Linked DNA regions of Homo sapiens: regions 1, 2, 3 and 4 are each linked to region 5. The links are contacts of gene promoters, found by promoter capture Hi-C in human tissues and cell types (Jung and others, 2019). All regions are on one chromosome and are shown on one strand. The core of a region is centred on a gene start or on the middle of the fragment in contact, and the rest is flanking DNA. Distances in the headings are between cores, read along the strand shown.

Region 1 (2,700 bases), core at 48-2,547, 260 kb before region 5:
CCTTCTGTTTCTCCCTCTTTATGCACAAGAAAACCTCCCTTTTTTGTCTCTGGGAAGTTAGAATAGTTCTTGTTTACAAATTTAACTAAATTAAACTTCCCTCCCAGGGCTGGGTGGAGGCCAGCCCTGTGGGTTAAGCCTGGCCTGTCGACTGTGGGTTAAGCCTGGCCTGTCGACTCCCGCTGGAATAATCAATCTATCAAAACAACCCATTGATCCTGAGGCAAACCGCTTTCAAAACCACCACATAGTTCCTGGACGTCCTGGCTTCCTCATGACACTTGGGGAAGAGGAGTCTTTTGAAATTTTAAATTTTATTATTACACAAGTAATACATGGATACATTCGTCTTGTAAAAATTTAACTTCAAAATTCTGTGGAATAAAATGTGAAAGGCCTTTTCTTTGCATCCCATCCCACAGTTAAGAGCTTCTGATGTATTTTTCTGTTTAGGCCTTTAAACTGCACGTTCATACACGTACACCTATATAAATGTACATTTAATTTTAAAAATAACATAAATGGTATCACTACGTAGGTGCCCTTCTGCTAGTTGTTTTCCCATTTAACATGTCCTGGGTAGCCAGTCAGACCACAGATCTACGTTTTAACGGCTGTAATCATATTTCAAAAACAGGATAGAGGCATTATTCATTTATCCATTTTCCTACTGATGGGTGTTAATATAGATTTCAATTTTTTGGTATTACAAACTATGTTGCAAGCAGCAGTTCTCTGGGAATTATCCATTCAAGTATGCACTTATTTTGGGCTCCCCATGTGCTCTACTCGGGGTTCGGAGTAAACAAAACCGACCTAAAAATAATTTTGAATGATAGAAAGGGGGCATTTTCTTTATCCAAGGGGGTGAGGCAGGCTGAAGATGGGTCTCTACTCCCTCCAAGACCATGGAGGGCGTCGGGGTGTCACCCCAGCTGTGAAAAAGGGACCCAGGACCCGCAGATGCTGGCGAGGAACAGGGGTGCGGAGCATGAGTCGGCTTTGCACCACGCCCTGGGGTCTCCAGCACTGAAGCGTTCAGTACCATGCAGAGCAGCTGGGAGCGGGTCCCGCTGGGCGGGGCCGAGCTGCGCGCGACCCTCGGCGCGCTCGGGGAGGCCCAGACAGGGGTGGCCTCTCTGGCCTCCGCTCCCGCGGGCTCTATGACACCGCACTGGCTCGCGGGACGGGGCGGGGTCGGGTGAGGGGGAGGAGACAGCCCCACGCTTTGCGACTCGCGGTGACCCCTACGCGGAACTCTCTCGCGGTAATTCGAAGTACCGCGCCTGCGTGCTGCAGTAGCGCCTGGTGGCGGTGGCAGTTTGCCCGCGGGTGTGTGAAGGGAGACAGTGTGGAGGCCACAGGGTACTCGCCACGATGAGCAGCACCTTAGCTAAGATCGCGGAGATAGAAGCAGAGGTAATGGACGCAGCTGGCGGTTCACTCTTAGTCTGAGCATTCCTTCTTTGGTGGCGTCGCTCCTTCCTGTTCTCCTTTGAGCCGCGTCAGGACCGGGCCTAGATTCCGCGACTTCTCTCAGCGAGGCCCGTGTTCCGACTGCCCTCTGCCACGATTAGGAGTCCCCGACTCTCCTCAGTCAGGGCCCCCTTTCCCCTCGTCCCGCGTCTACGCTCTCGGACTCCCCTTTGCCCGGGCCCGCGTTCCGCACCCCTGCACCTTAGGCCCTTAGTCCGTTCCCCCTCCCAGTGTTTGGCTCCTGTTCTGATGTTGTTTCTTTCCGTTTTGCTCTGAGAAACACTGAATCCTGTCCCTTATTCCATCTCTGACTTGGTCAGATAGTTCAGGATCTTTCCTCATCATCCTTCGCTGCGTCCCCCTTATTCCCCCTTTTCCCAGTGTCTACCCTAATGACCCCCTGATTCAGAGTATTTGCTCCCGGTAATCGGATCTGGAAGTAAAATGACATCTGTGTGGGAGCAGTTTATTCCGCCTGGATAGTGTGTGATTCCATTGCGTGCGGCCCTGAGAGCGCTTTACAATTAGGAAAGTGGTGTCCCAGTGTTAGATGGATCCAAACAGCTGCAAATAGTAGAAAAGGAACCCGCAGACGGGTTTCAGTCTAGTCTGGGGGCACTAATTGGAATGACCTTAATCGTCTTTCCTCTTTGGGCTTTGCTTTGCTTTGTAGTGAGGGAAATGAGCTGGATGGAGGAGATAATGGACTTTTACTCTTTTAAAGCCTGTAAACTGGGTGTGCTAACATTAGTAGGACTTGGGGAAAAAAATTATCCTCTCAAAGCTGGGGGAAGCGTTCACTGCTTCTAATTTATGGCTGTGATTCCTCCCTTTTAGATGGCTCGGACTCAAAAGAACAAGGCCACAGCACACCACTTAGGGCTGCTTAAGGCTCGTCTTGCTAAGCTTCGTCGAGAACTCATTACTCCAAAGGGTGGTGGTGGTGGAGGTCCAGGAGAAGGTTTGTGTTCTTCTTCAATATATATATTTTTAGGTATAATTTTTGTCAAAATAGTACATACATGTGGTTTAAAAATAACTAAAGATGGCCCAGTGCAGTGGCTCAACGCCTGCAATCCTAGCATGCTGGGAGGCTGAGATAGGAGGATCACTTGAGGCCAGGAGTTCAAGACCAGCCTGATCAACATAGACCCCCATCTCAAAAAAAAAAAAAAGTTTTTTAAAAACAGAAAAATAACTAAAGATGTTCTACTAAAGTAGATT
Region 2 (2,700 bases), core at 52-2,551, 260 kb after region 5:
CTCTTTCCTGTTGGTCACCGCCCTGCAGTCGTACCAGCCTCACTGCAGTTCTTCATGTGATTTATGTTCATCCCACACCAAGCACTCTCCCTGGAATATGCTTTCCCTCCATCTTCACCTGGTGAATGCCTACTCTTCCTTCTTTCGATCTCAGCTCGGCCATTACTATCTCAGCCTTCCATGACCTCCGACTAGGGGAACCCTCCTTATATCACACTCTCAGAGTAACATGTGCCTCTGCTGTAGCCTTCATCACAGCCGTCAGTTTACACTTATTCCTTCAACTTGAATTAATGTCAGCCTTTTCTAATCAACACTAAGCTCCACAGGAACAGAGACCATATCATTCTTTGCTCACCTTGGTACTCCTAACGTTAGAACAGTGCCTTGCACATAGAAGATATCTCGTAAATAATAAATGAATGAATGAGTAATGAGAAAGCCTTTGGGTTAGACGGTCATCCTTCAGACCAAGCCCAAAACTTCCCCAAGAGAAAATCTGCTGCCTTTGAATAAAACCAGCCTTTCTCACTGGCCTCCTGCCATGGGACAGAAACAGCCTTCTTGACTTCCAGTGAGTTCTGCCGGCTAGAGACGTGACCTTGGGTGGTCACAGGGTACCCGTGGAGTAGGAAAAGCCTTTGTCCCTCTAAGCTGAGATAGAAACTGGATATGAAACCACAATGCAATGGAGAAGTCTGTCTCATTTCCTGAGCTCAGCCATTTCTCAGTGCCAGGCACTTTCAGCTCTTCCTTCCCTCTTCAAACAGGGTCACTTACCGTGTCCTGATGGTGGAATCCTCTACTTTGGTTTTTCTGGCCAGCAGTGTTTTCTTTAATGGGTTGGAGCAAAGGTTCTCAAAGGCCTACAGACCTGGGCCAGTCCCCCACAGAGTCAGCACCAGGACATGGTGAAATCAGAGAAACAGGGACAAAGTCGGGAGTTTTTATGAAGATAAATTAATTCTGAAATTGTCTGCCCTACTTTTTTCTGTGTCAGGATGCCCTTTCTTTTATGAAACAAGGGTGCTAGGAGTTGGCCATTTTTTTCAGTGTCCTTGTTTGTCAAAATCACCTATTTAATTTTCTTTTGAAATTTACTGGTCTGTGGACAGTGGCTGAGCCAGGATGAGAACTTGGATTTTGTAGTTCCAGGTTTGCAGTCTCTCCCCTCTGCCACCCCTCCCTGGAGAGGATCAGATGCAGGGGAGACAGGACGGCTGGCTGTAAATTATTGACGGGCTGCCATGTGGAAGAGGGGAAGCACTGGTTCTGTAACCAGGGAGCAGAGTCAGGGTCACTGGGTAGCAGTTTCAGAGGGGCATATTTCAAGTGGGTTAGAATAAACTCTTTGACAGGCAGGAATTCAACAATAGAATGGGCTACCCCACCCATGGTGGCCAGGCACAGGTGTGGCAGCCATATTTGGGCTGTTGGAGGGACTATCCCCGCCTGCGGGTACTGGTTAAGGATTTTGGCCTTGGATTCAAATCGACCTGGGTTTCAGCACTAGTTTTACCACTTTTTATCTGTGTGACCCGGGGCAAATCAGTTTCCTGCTGTTTAAAATGGGGGTAAATCACGCCTCCCTCAGAGTCCTGTGAGGATTGAAAGAAGGGGTGCCAGCCGGGCACAGTGGCTCACGCCTGTAATCCCAGTGCTTTGGGAGGCCAAGATGGGAGGATTGCTTGAGCTCAGGAGTTTGAGACCAGCCTTGGCAACATAGTGAGGCCTCGTCTCTACCGCTACTATTAATAATAAACTAGCTGGGCATAGTGGCATGTGCCTGAAATCTCAGCTACTCGGAAGGCTGAGGTGGGAGAATTGCTTGAGTCCAGGAAGTCAGCTGCAGTGAGCCAAGATCGTGCCACTGCACCCCAGCCTGGGTGACAGAGTGAGACCCTGTTTCAAAAATAAAAGAAAGAAGGGGTGCCCAGGCCACAAAAGGGCATTTTGTGAGATGTGGGCACATTCCTGGCACATCTGTCTCCAGGGAGTTTACTAATTCCTGGGGAATAAGGAATGCCACTCTCTGGTGGAGAGGAAGAGACTCACAGAGAAAAACAGTTTATGAGGCCGTGTGCGGTGGCTCACGCCTGTAATCCCAGCACTTTGGGAGGCCGAGGCGGGAGGATCACCTGAGGTCAGGAGTTTGAGACCAGCCTGGCCAACATGGGGAAACCCCATCTCTACTAAGAATACAAAAATTAGCCAGGTGTGGTGGCTCATGCCTGTAATCCCAGCTACTCGAGAGGCTGAGGCACGAGAATCGCTTGATTCCAAACATTCATTCATCCATATACCCATCCATCCATACACCTACTCATCCAACTCGTGTTCATCCAAACATCCATCCATCCATCCATCCATCCATCCATCCATCCATCCATCCATATATACATCCATCTATCCATTCATGCATCTATACATATACCTATTGATCAAATTCTTGTCCATCCATCCATCCACCTATTTATCCAACTTCTGTTCATCCAAACATCCACCTATCCATCTATCTACCCATCCATCCATTCATGCATGCATGCATCCATCCATACATACATACATACACTCACTCATCCGTCTATATACCCATCCATCCATGTATCTATTTATCTAATTCCTGTACATCCAAACATTCATTCATCCATATACCCATCCATCCATACACCTACTCATCCAACTCATGTTCATCCAAAC
Region 3 (2,700 bases), core at 7-2,506, 470 kb after region 5:
CCGGGTGCTTTCCACACTTTAGTCTTTAATGCAACTTTCATCATCATCCCCCACTTTCCAGATGAGGGAGCTCCAGCTTAGAGAGGTGGAGGGAAATGTGCAGGTCCCCCAGCTAGGGCTCACCTGACTTATGGTCTTAACCAACAAGATACCCTCCAAGTCAGAGGAAGTGGGGAGTTGGCATCTATACAGGATGTACTACATGCCAGTACTGTGCTTGTTCTTTTTTTTTTTTTTTTTTTTTTTTGAGGCAGGATTTCTGTCCCCCAGGCTGGAGCTGCAGCCCCAACCTCCTGGGCTCAATCAATTCTCCTAGGTAGCTGGGACTACAGATGCATGCCAACATACCCACTAATTTTTATATTTTTTGTCGAGACAGGTTTTCACTGTGTCGTCCAGACTGGTCTCACCCAACCAAACTCCTGGGCTCAAGCAGTCCACCCACCTCAGCCTTGCCTGGCCTTGTTCTTTACATGCGTTATGTCAGTTAAGCCCCCAGCAACCCTGTGAAGTAGGCATCATCATCTTGATTCTATAGATGAGGAAACTGAGGCTCAGAGTGATTTCAACTTGCTGGGGGTTAGCAGGCAGCAGAACCAGGATTTAGATCTTTCTCCTACAAAAAACATGTTTGTTTTTTGTTCGTTTGAGACAGGGTCTTGCTCTGTCACCCAGGTTGGTGTGCAGTGGCACCGTCACAGCTCACTGCAGCCTCAGACTCCCAGATTCAAGTGATTCCCCTGCCTCAGCCTCCTGAGGAGCTGGGATTACAGGCATGCACCACCATACCAGGCTAATTTTTTGTATTTTATTAGAGACGAGGTTTCACTATCACTGTGTTGGCCAGGATGGTCTTGATCTCCTGACCTCGTGATCCGCCGCCTCAGCCTCCCAAAGCGCTGGGATTACAGGCATGAGCCACTGTGCCCGGCCGATCCTCAGCCTCTTAAAGTGCTGGGATTACAGGTGTGAGCTACTGCACTTGATCTCCAAGCTTCCATCTTGTTAATTCCTATCCTAATAGTCGTCCCGCACTGTTGCCTGTCCCACCTGAGGCCAGGCACCTGAAGCTGTCCTCAGCCAACAGCATAGTATGTCTTACGTGCCTCCCTCTGGTTCATTTGGAAGTTAGATACCGGGAATTATCCCCTGCCAGGGTAGGGAGGGATCACTCATGCTTGCCTCCTTTCCTTAGGGGAGATCTTTGAGCTGAAGGCAGAGCTCAATAGTGACAAGAAGGAGAAGGAGGAGGAGGCAGTGAAGAAAGTGATTGCATCAATGACCGTGGGCAAAGATGTCAGGTGTGCAGGAGTAGGCCTGGTGGCAGCTGGAAGCTGGCTGACGGGAGGGTTTATAGCTGGGGTCCACTTCAGTCTCTCCTTTAGGGTGTCTAGGGACCCATGTCTCCCCTCATACAGCTCCCTTCATAAAACTTTATTCCCAGTAGAAAATTTTGTTTACTCAGGAATCACAAGCCCAGATGCCGACAGGTCAGGTGGTGATGGAGTGAGTTAACTGGAGTAGGTGGGAAAGGCAGCAGGCGATGGAGTGGGTGTGGCATGAACTCTCTTAGAAACTCCAGAGGATCAGTACTGGCTGGGGAAGAGGACCCAGTGTGGCCAGGTCTTCTAGTTTTTAAAAAGAATGGGAAATCTGGGCCAGGCGTGGTGGCTCATGCCTGTAATCCTAGCACTTTGGGGGACGCAGGCGGGCGGATCACAAGGTCAGGAGTTCGACACCAGCCTGGCCAATATGGTGAAATCCCGTCTCCTCTAAAAATATAAAAATTAGCCAGGCGTGGTGGTGCATGCCTGTAATCTCAGCTACTCGGGAGACTGAGGCAGGAGAATTGCTTGAACCTGGGAGGTGGATGTTACAGTCAGCCGATATTGTACCTCTGCACTCCAGCCCTGGTGACAGAGCAAGACTCCGTCTCAAAAAAAAAAAAAAAGAATGGGAAATCTGGATTTTTCATTTTAAATCTCCCTAAGTGGCCAGATGATATTAAACAAACACTGTGTGGTGCAAATAAAACATATGTGCAGATTGGATTTCTCTAATTTGTCACCGGTGTGCAGCCTCTGTCGCACCCGATGGCTAAAGCAGGTCGTGCGTAGAGCGGCTGCCGCACCTTGGCTCATGCTTCCCCTGTGGGAGCGCCCCGTGACCCAGCTTGTCTTCTCATCTTTAAAAACCCATTCAAGGCCGGGCGTGGTAACTCACACCTGTAATCCTAGCACTTTGGGAGGCCGAGGAGGGTAGATCACGAGGTCAGGAGTTCAAGACCACCTGGCCAAGATGGTGAAACCCCATCTCTACTAAAAATAGAAAAATTAGCTGGGCATGGTGGCGGGCACATGTAATTTCAGCTGCTCGGGAGGCTGAGGCAGAGAATTGCTGGAACCCGGGAGGCAGAGGTTGCAGTGAGCTGAGATCATGCCACTGCACTCCAGCCTGGGCGGCAGAGCGAGACTCCCTCTCAAAAAAATAAAAAAAATTCAAGGTCCGCCTTTCCCGTGTTCCTGCCTTCCCTCATCACCCCAGCCCACTACCCCAAACTCAAAGCATTTGCTCTCTGTTCCCATCACCCAGCACTAAATGGAGATTGTTCTCCTGTTATGTGTACTTGCATTTACCTGCTCACCAGATTTTAAAATCTCAAAGGCAGAGACTGGATTTTACAACAGTTTAATATTTGCA
Region 4 (2,700 bases), core at 170-2,669, 420 kb after region 5:
GGTTTCAGAAAGCTGTGGTGTTGGCTGGGATAGTCAGGGCAGCTTCTCACAGGAGTGCATGCAGAGCTGGGCCCTGTGGGTTGTGGAGATGACTTAGCTAAGGTGGGAGAATCAGAGCAGTGGCAGGTGCAGAAATAAGTGAGCACAGGGGAGTGGAGGCAGGGTGGGCACGCAGATGCTCTTGGCTGGAGGAGGGTGGCCACTGAAGGATCGTGGGGGTTTGTGGGGACCATATAGCTTGATAGTTCAGATGAGGTCACAGCATACTGTGTGTTTTGAACACAGTATACTGGGGTTTGGAAAGCCAGGCAGAGGCCTTGGATTTGATGTGTCAGGGACTGGGAGCCCCTGTAAGGAGGGAGAAAGGCAGTGACTCACACACAGAGGTTTCAGAAGAGGACTCAAGTGGCCACCCAAGAAGCTGGTGCATAAATAGCAATTGGGGCTCCTTTGCAGAGGGGTCACTCTGCCTCCTTGGTGGGGGTGGGAGGGATCAGCTTTAGAACTTGCTGCTTGACTGCAGCCCCACAGCTTTGGGGACTAAGAAAAAGGTAGACATATGTCCCACCATCTCCACAGCCAGCTCTTTGCTCCTCCCTGCCTTGTGTGTGGAAGACGCTTCTTCTTACCACAGAGGAGTCATCTCCTTTGAGCCATCTTCTGGCTCAAAAGGGTCACACCAGACTCTTTCCCCTCAAGTAGGGAGAAACATTCGCCACTTCTATGACAGGTGGAGCTGTGGGAACATGCTGAATAGCAAAATACTGTAACAGGACAAGGGAGGGAAGGAAGGAGAGGCAGGCAAACCACTGTGGGGATGTTCTCAGAAGGCCAGCAGAAGTAGAGGGTGGAGAGTGGGGAAGGAAGCAAGTAGACAGGTCACCCTCCACACGAGGTCAGATGTGTTGTCTTCTTGCCTGCTTAGGGGGCCTGGCGGCGGTGATTTACACGGACACCTTGCAGACGGTGATCATGCTGGTGGGGTCTTTAATCCTGACTGGGTTTGGTAAGTGGGGCCAGGGCAGGCTGAGGAGGTGGGAGCAGAGGTAGAGGGCCTCAGGAAGAGGAAGGCAAGTCCAGCCTCTCTACCTGCTTGCCAGACTAGGCAGTGAGCTGAGGCATGCTCTGCCCTTCCAAACGGAGGGTCCAGCCCAGATGGGCTGTCATTGTGGGTATGCAGGGTCAGCTTCCTTATCCCTGGAAGACTGAAGCTGGGGCTGGTCCTGGATTTTCTGCTGCCCTCTCTCACCAGTCTGGGCTAGTGGTTGTGCTGTGAGCCTGTGATAACATGGTGTTCTGTTTGCAGAGAAACTGGACAAAAAAGGATAAGGCTAAATATCCATCAAGCTAAATCTAGTCAAATGTTGCGTCTTCCATCTTAGGCTATATCTTATCTACATTTTGATGTCAAATATCCTTTCTTTTATGAATTGTTGATAGTGGGTGATAATGTTCCTTTTAATGCCCCTATTTGGCAAAATTAAAAACTTGGCTCCTCAGGGTTGGCCCTCCAATTAATTTTTTTTTTTTTTGCAATTTTACTTGTCTATGAAATCTTAAAGATGAGACTGGAGAACCTAGGTAAGGGTACTTATTATGGGAGGATAGAAAGTACATTTTATTTCTAGGTGCTCAAGGCCCACTGTGTATCCTGCAAAAACTTGTATTTGCTCTCCACTCTTCTGTTTTCTAAGGACTTTCATTTGGTTCTCCCCAGCAGGCCTTGGGTGTTAGCTAGGCAGGCAGTGGAATGACTTATTCAAGGACACACAATTGAGAGGTGGCAGGTTCTGGATTCCTCACCCATTCCCTGTCCATCCCACCACATGCTGGGTCCAGGAGTGGTAGGTGTGGGTCTGAGGTCCCAAAGGCCACTGTGTGTGTCTAGGTCTGTGTGTCTCTAGGCCTGAGTCCAAGGCTCCAAAGGCCATGGCTGACAGCAGAGGGTGAGGGAAAAAACAGAGTCTTTGTATGTGGTCCCAAACCAAGGTCTTTCTTTGATTAATAAAAGTCCCTTCCCTTTTACAAAGAGGTTTACAGTTGGAGTACTTTTACAAGTGATTGCTTTGGTCCCCATAATAGCCCCCAAGGGGGCTGGGCAGGGCTACTAATCTCATTCTATGGATGACAAAGCTGAGGCCCAGAATGGGAAGGTGATTTGCCCAAGGCCACTCAGTGAGGGCTCTGTCTGTGGGTTGGGTCCTCTCAGTTTCTCAGGCATCTATGGAAAGAAGCTGCTATGACGAGTTGAAGGTTTCAGAATGTTCATTTCTGTACCGATGTTTTCCAGCTTTTCACGAAGTGGGAGGCTATGACGCCTTCATGGAAAAGTACATGAAAGCCATTCCAACCATAGTGTCTGATGGCAACACCACCTTTCAGGAAAAATGCTACACTCCAAGGGCCGACTCCTTCCACATCTTCCGAGATCCCCTCACGGGAGACCTCCCATGGCCTGGGTTCATCTTTGGGATGTCCATCCTTACCTTGTGGTACTGGTGCACAGATCAGGTACCCAAGCTGGATGTGCGGGATGGACAGAGTCTTCTCCAGGGCCCTACAGGAACTCCTGTCTGTCTGTGGTTTGCAGGGTTGGGACAGGGAGGGGAGAGCTCAGGTGGTTTGTAAGTTGCCACGCCCCAGTGATACAGCAGTGCCAGGCCAATGACCCAAGATGGCGAAGCTAGGAAGTACAAAGGT
Region 5 (2,700 bases), core at 62-2,561:
TTGTATTTTTTAGTAGAGACAGGGTTTCACCACATTGGCCAGGCTGGTCTCGAACTCCTGACCTCAAGTGATCCACCCACCTTGGCCTACCAAAGTGCTGAGGTTACAGGCGTGAGCCACCGCGCCCAGCCTGTGACACACTTTAAATGAATTCAGGGTTGACTCATACACAGCACGCCTGGTAATAACATTGAAAACAAAGTCTCCTGCCCAAATTCTAACAGTTACCACCACAATGCAGAGCCCTCTCCTGAGAGATAATCATTTCTGTACAGTTAATGATGAAAGAGTGACGCTTTCATAACAAGACCAATGATGGTTTCTGTTCCCTCTCAGTCCAAATCCAGTGTCCGTCTCCTCCCAAAACAATAGGTTATCCTCTGATCAACGCTGACAAAATGAACCCTGTAGGAAACACACAAGTATGGCGCATCTCTCAAATCTTAGCTCTTTGAAATGACACCAGGCAGCCGACTCTGAATCACAGCTACATTTTAATCCATTTTCCGACACTCCAAATGCTCTAAGCTATTTTCTGTATAACCACTGCCCTCACGGCGGGCAGCCTGAGAGAAAGATCGTCGCGTGAGGGGGTACCTTGATGGGGGTCCGGGCTCTGCTACAAACTGGCTAGGTGAACTTGAGCAAATCCCTCCCTCTCTCGGAGCCTCAATCTCATTAACTCCAAAGAGAGACAGCTGGACTCAGAAGACCCCTCAAGTCTCCCACATTTCTAAGAATCTAACAGCTGGGGGTCACAAGGGTAACCAAGACTCTAGCCCCATAACATATTGTTTTGAGATTACCTAACCTAACCCTCTAGCTTCAAAGACTAAGATCCAGAAATGAAAGTTGCCTGACACTCAATCTAGTGTCCTTCCCACAGGACATCATTCCTTCTACGAAAACGAACACACGAGAAAATGGCATCTGAACATCTGAAAGCCCTGCCTCGACTCAAGAGACGGGCAGGTAGCCTATTTCATCTGATTTTTGTCCCTCGTGAACTTCCACCTAGCTGGAAAGGGCAAAGCGCGAGCTTCTAGGCCACACCCTAAGTAAATCCGGACCGCCCTACGCAGGAGCAGTCGCACCTGCTCCTAAGCTCGAGGTGAAGGTGGCTCCGTCTCCACCCGAGCTCGCCTCAGAGCGAGCCCGCGACACAGAAACATCTCTCTTCAGACCCCAGCTTGGTCCAGGTTGCCCCACGCCCCAAGGTAGTCTCTCCGCGCTGCTATACCTGCTCCGCCACGGCGCGACCCCGTGCAGTAATCCCAGACATCGGTGCCCCACGGACGTCGCCATCTTGTCTGCTCCTTCTCAGCGTGCCACGCCCCCTTCACACGCTGGGCGCACGCTTAAGGCGTCACGAGTCTCGAGTTCAGTGGGCCAATGAGAAAAGCGCGGGTTGGGGGCGGAGCCGACTAAGCTCCGCCCTGTGGCTACTCCCCACCTAACCCGCTTGGCACCTGCGGAGGTAGGGGAACTAGTGGAGCTGTAGGTTTCGCTAAACCTGGGCTTGGTCGCAGCACTGCCACTCCTCCTCCTTCCCTCTGGGTGCCTTTCCTCATGTACCTGGAAAATCTGAGTCATCCAAGATCCAAGAATGTCGTTTCAAGTGATCGAACTTGCTCATTTTACGGATGGGGAAACTGGGCATCCATGACTCAGCTCTCGTTTTTTAAGCGCCGGAGTGTGTTGTGAGCACTTTGCAAGCATGGTGTCATATCATTCTTATCTCCTACCGCTGTGCTGCCAGGGAGACCGGGGGCAAACGGTCTTGGATCACCTAGAAATGCAACCAGTCGTTAAATTCGGTGCCTGGTGCTTGCTCTTGAAAAGGTTCCTATCTTCAATTGTAAGAGGAAAACGAGTTTTCAATCATGTCTGCTACTTTTTACTGAGCACTGACTAGAGACTCGCAGCTAGGCCCGAGACATTATCCCCATTTTAAAGATGAGGTACCTGAGGCTCAGGAAGGTTAAGCAACATCTTCAAGGGTACATAAAGGGCATATGCCCAAAGACTATAAAATAGTGAAGCCAGAATTTGAACATACGTCTCTGACTCCAAAAACCATGTCCTAAACATCTTCTTCTTTTTTTTTTTTTTTTGAGACAGAGTCTCTCATTGTCGCCCAGGCTGGAGTGCAGTGGCGCGATCTCGATTCACTGCAAGCTCCGCCTCCCGGGTTGACGCCATTCTCCTGCCTCAGCCTCCCGAGTAGCTGGGACTACAGGCGCCCGCCACAACGCCCGGCTAATTTTTTTATATATATTTTTCGTAGAGACGGGGTTTCACCATGTTAGCCAGGATGGTCTCGATCTCCTGACCTCGTGATCCGCCCGCCTCGGCTTCTCAAAATGCTGGGATTACAAGCGTGAGCCACCGCACCTGGCCTAAACATTCTTCCTTTTAAGCCCTTTGTCAGAATCTGGCAGAATTTGGGTCCAACAACTGAAGGAATGCAGCCCTACTTTTTCATCTGCTAAGCTGATAATCACAGTTGCCTTCACCAGGCATTTGACAGGAGGAGGAATATGCTCCCTGGTCCCTGCAGGTATTTCTGTGTAGTTGGCTTAAGTTCAACTAGGGCATACTCAGCTCCTACAGAGAGCTTAAAAGGCACCAGGTTTGGTATTGGGGGGAAGAAACCTCCCTTTGTCATGGTTTTCAAAAGTCGGAAAAGAAAAAAACAAA

What was found. The method cuts DNA at HindIII sites, captures the fragments that hold promoters and counts their contacts. A contact is called where the count stands out against the background at its distance.
Region 1: the fragment with the promoter of DRG1 here is called in contact with the fragment with the promoter of PISD in region 5 in 1 of the 25 tissues and cell types used here (hippocampus).
Region 2: a fragment that was not itself captured here is called in contact with the fragment with the promoter of PISD in region 5 in 1 of the 25 tissues and cell types used here (IMR-90 fibroblasts).
Region 3: a contact is called between a fragment that was not itself captured here and the fragment with the promoter of PISD in region 5, in 1 of the 25 tissues and cell types used here (lymphoblastoid cells).
Region 4: a fragment that was not itself captured here is called in contact with the fragment with the promoter of PISD in region 5 in 2 of the 25 tissues and cell types used here (lymphoblastoid cells and mesendoderm cells).

What each region holds. Positions count from the first base shown.
Region 1 is chr22:31,398,307-31,401,006 of GRCh38, forward strand. It overlaps DRG1 (developmentally regulated GTP binding protein 1), which reads left to right and starts at 1,298. Exons shown (of 9, transcript NM_004147.4): 1 at 1,298-1,419; 2 at 2,314-2,437. The coding sequence starts at 1,378. RefSeq lists a silencer at 958-1,237 and enhancers at 1,325-2,230, 1,358-1,407. The HindIII fragment of the contact is 5,082 bases long and covers 1-2,700 here.
Region 2 is chr22:31,922,718-31,925,417 of GRCh38, forward strand. It overlaps LOC105372998 (a long non-coding RNA gene), which reads right to left. Exons shown (of 3, transcript XR_001755494.2): 3 at 2,578-2,700. Among named protein-coding and RNA genes, the nearest start is that of YWHAH, 20 kb to the right of the region's middle. The HindIII fragment of the contact is 5,629 bases long and covers 1-2,700 here.
Region 3 is chr22:32,132,833-32,135,532 of GRCh38, forward strand. It overlaps the pseudogene AP1B1P1 and the pseudogene AP1B1P2. Among named protein-coding and RNA genes, the nearest start is that of C22orf42, 25 kb to the right of the region's middle. The HindIII fragment of the contact is 8,200 bases long and covers 1-2,700 here.
Region 4 is chr22:32,082,149-32,084,848 of GRCh38, forward strand. SLC5A1 (solute carrier family 5 member 1) reads left to right here. Exons shown (of 15, transcript NM_000343.4): 7 at 926-1,006; 8 at 2,291-2,511. Among named protein-coding and RNA genes, the nearest start is that of SLC5A1, 40 kb to the left of the region's middle. The HindIII fragment of the contact is 6,109 bases long and covers 1-2,700 here.
Region 5 is chr22:31,660,904-31,663,603 of GRCh38, forward strand. PISD (phosphatidylserine decarboxylase) reads right to left here and starts at 1,312. Exons shown (of 8, transcript NM_001326411.2): 1 at 1,241-1,312. The coding sequence starts at 1,305. RefSeq lists enhancers at 44-937, 233-372, 346-1,545, 763-812, 1,053-1,352 and 1 more. The HindIII fragment of the contact is 10,896 bases long and covers 1-2,700 here.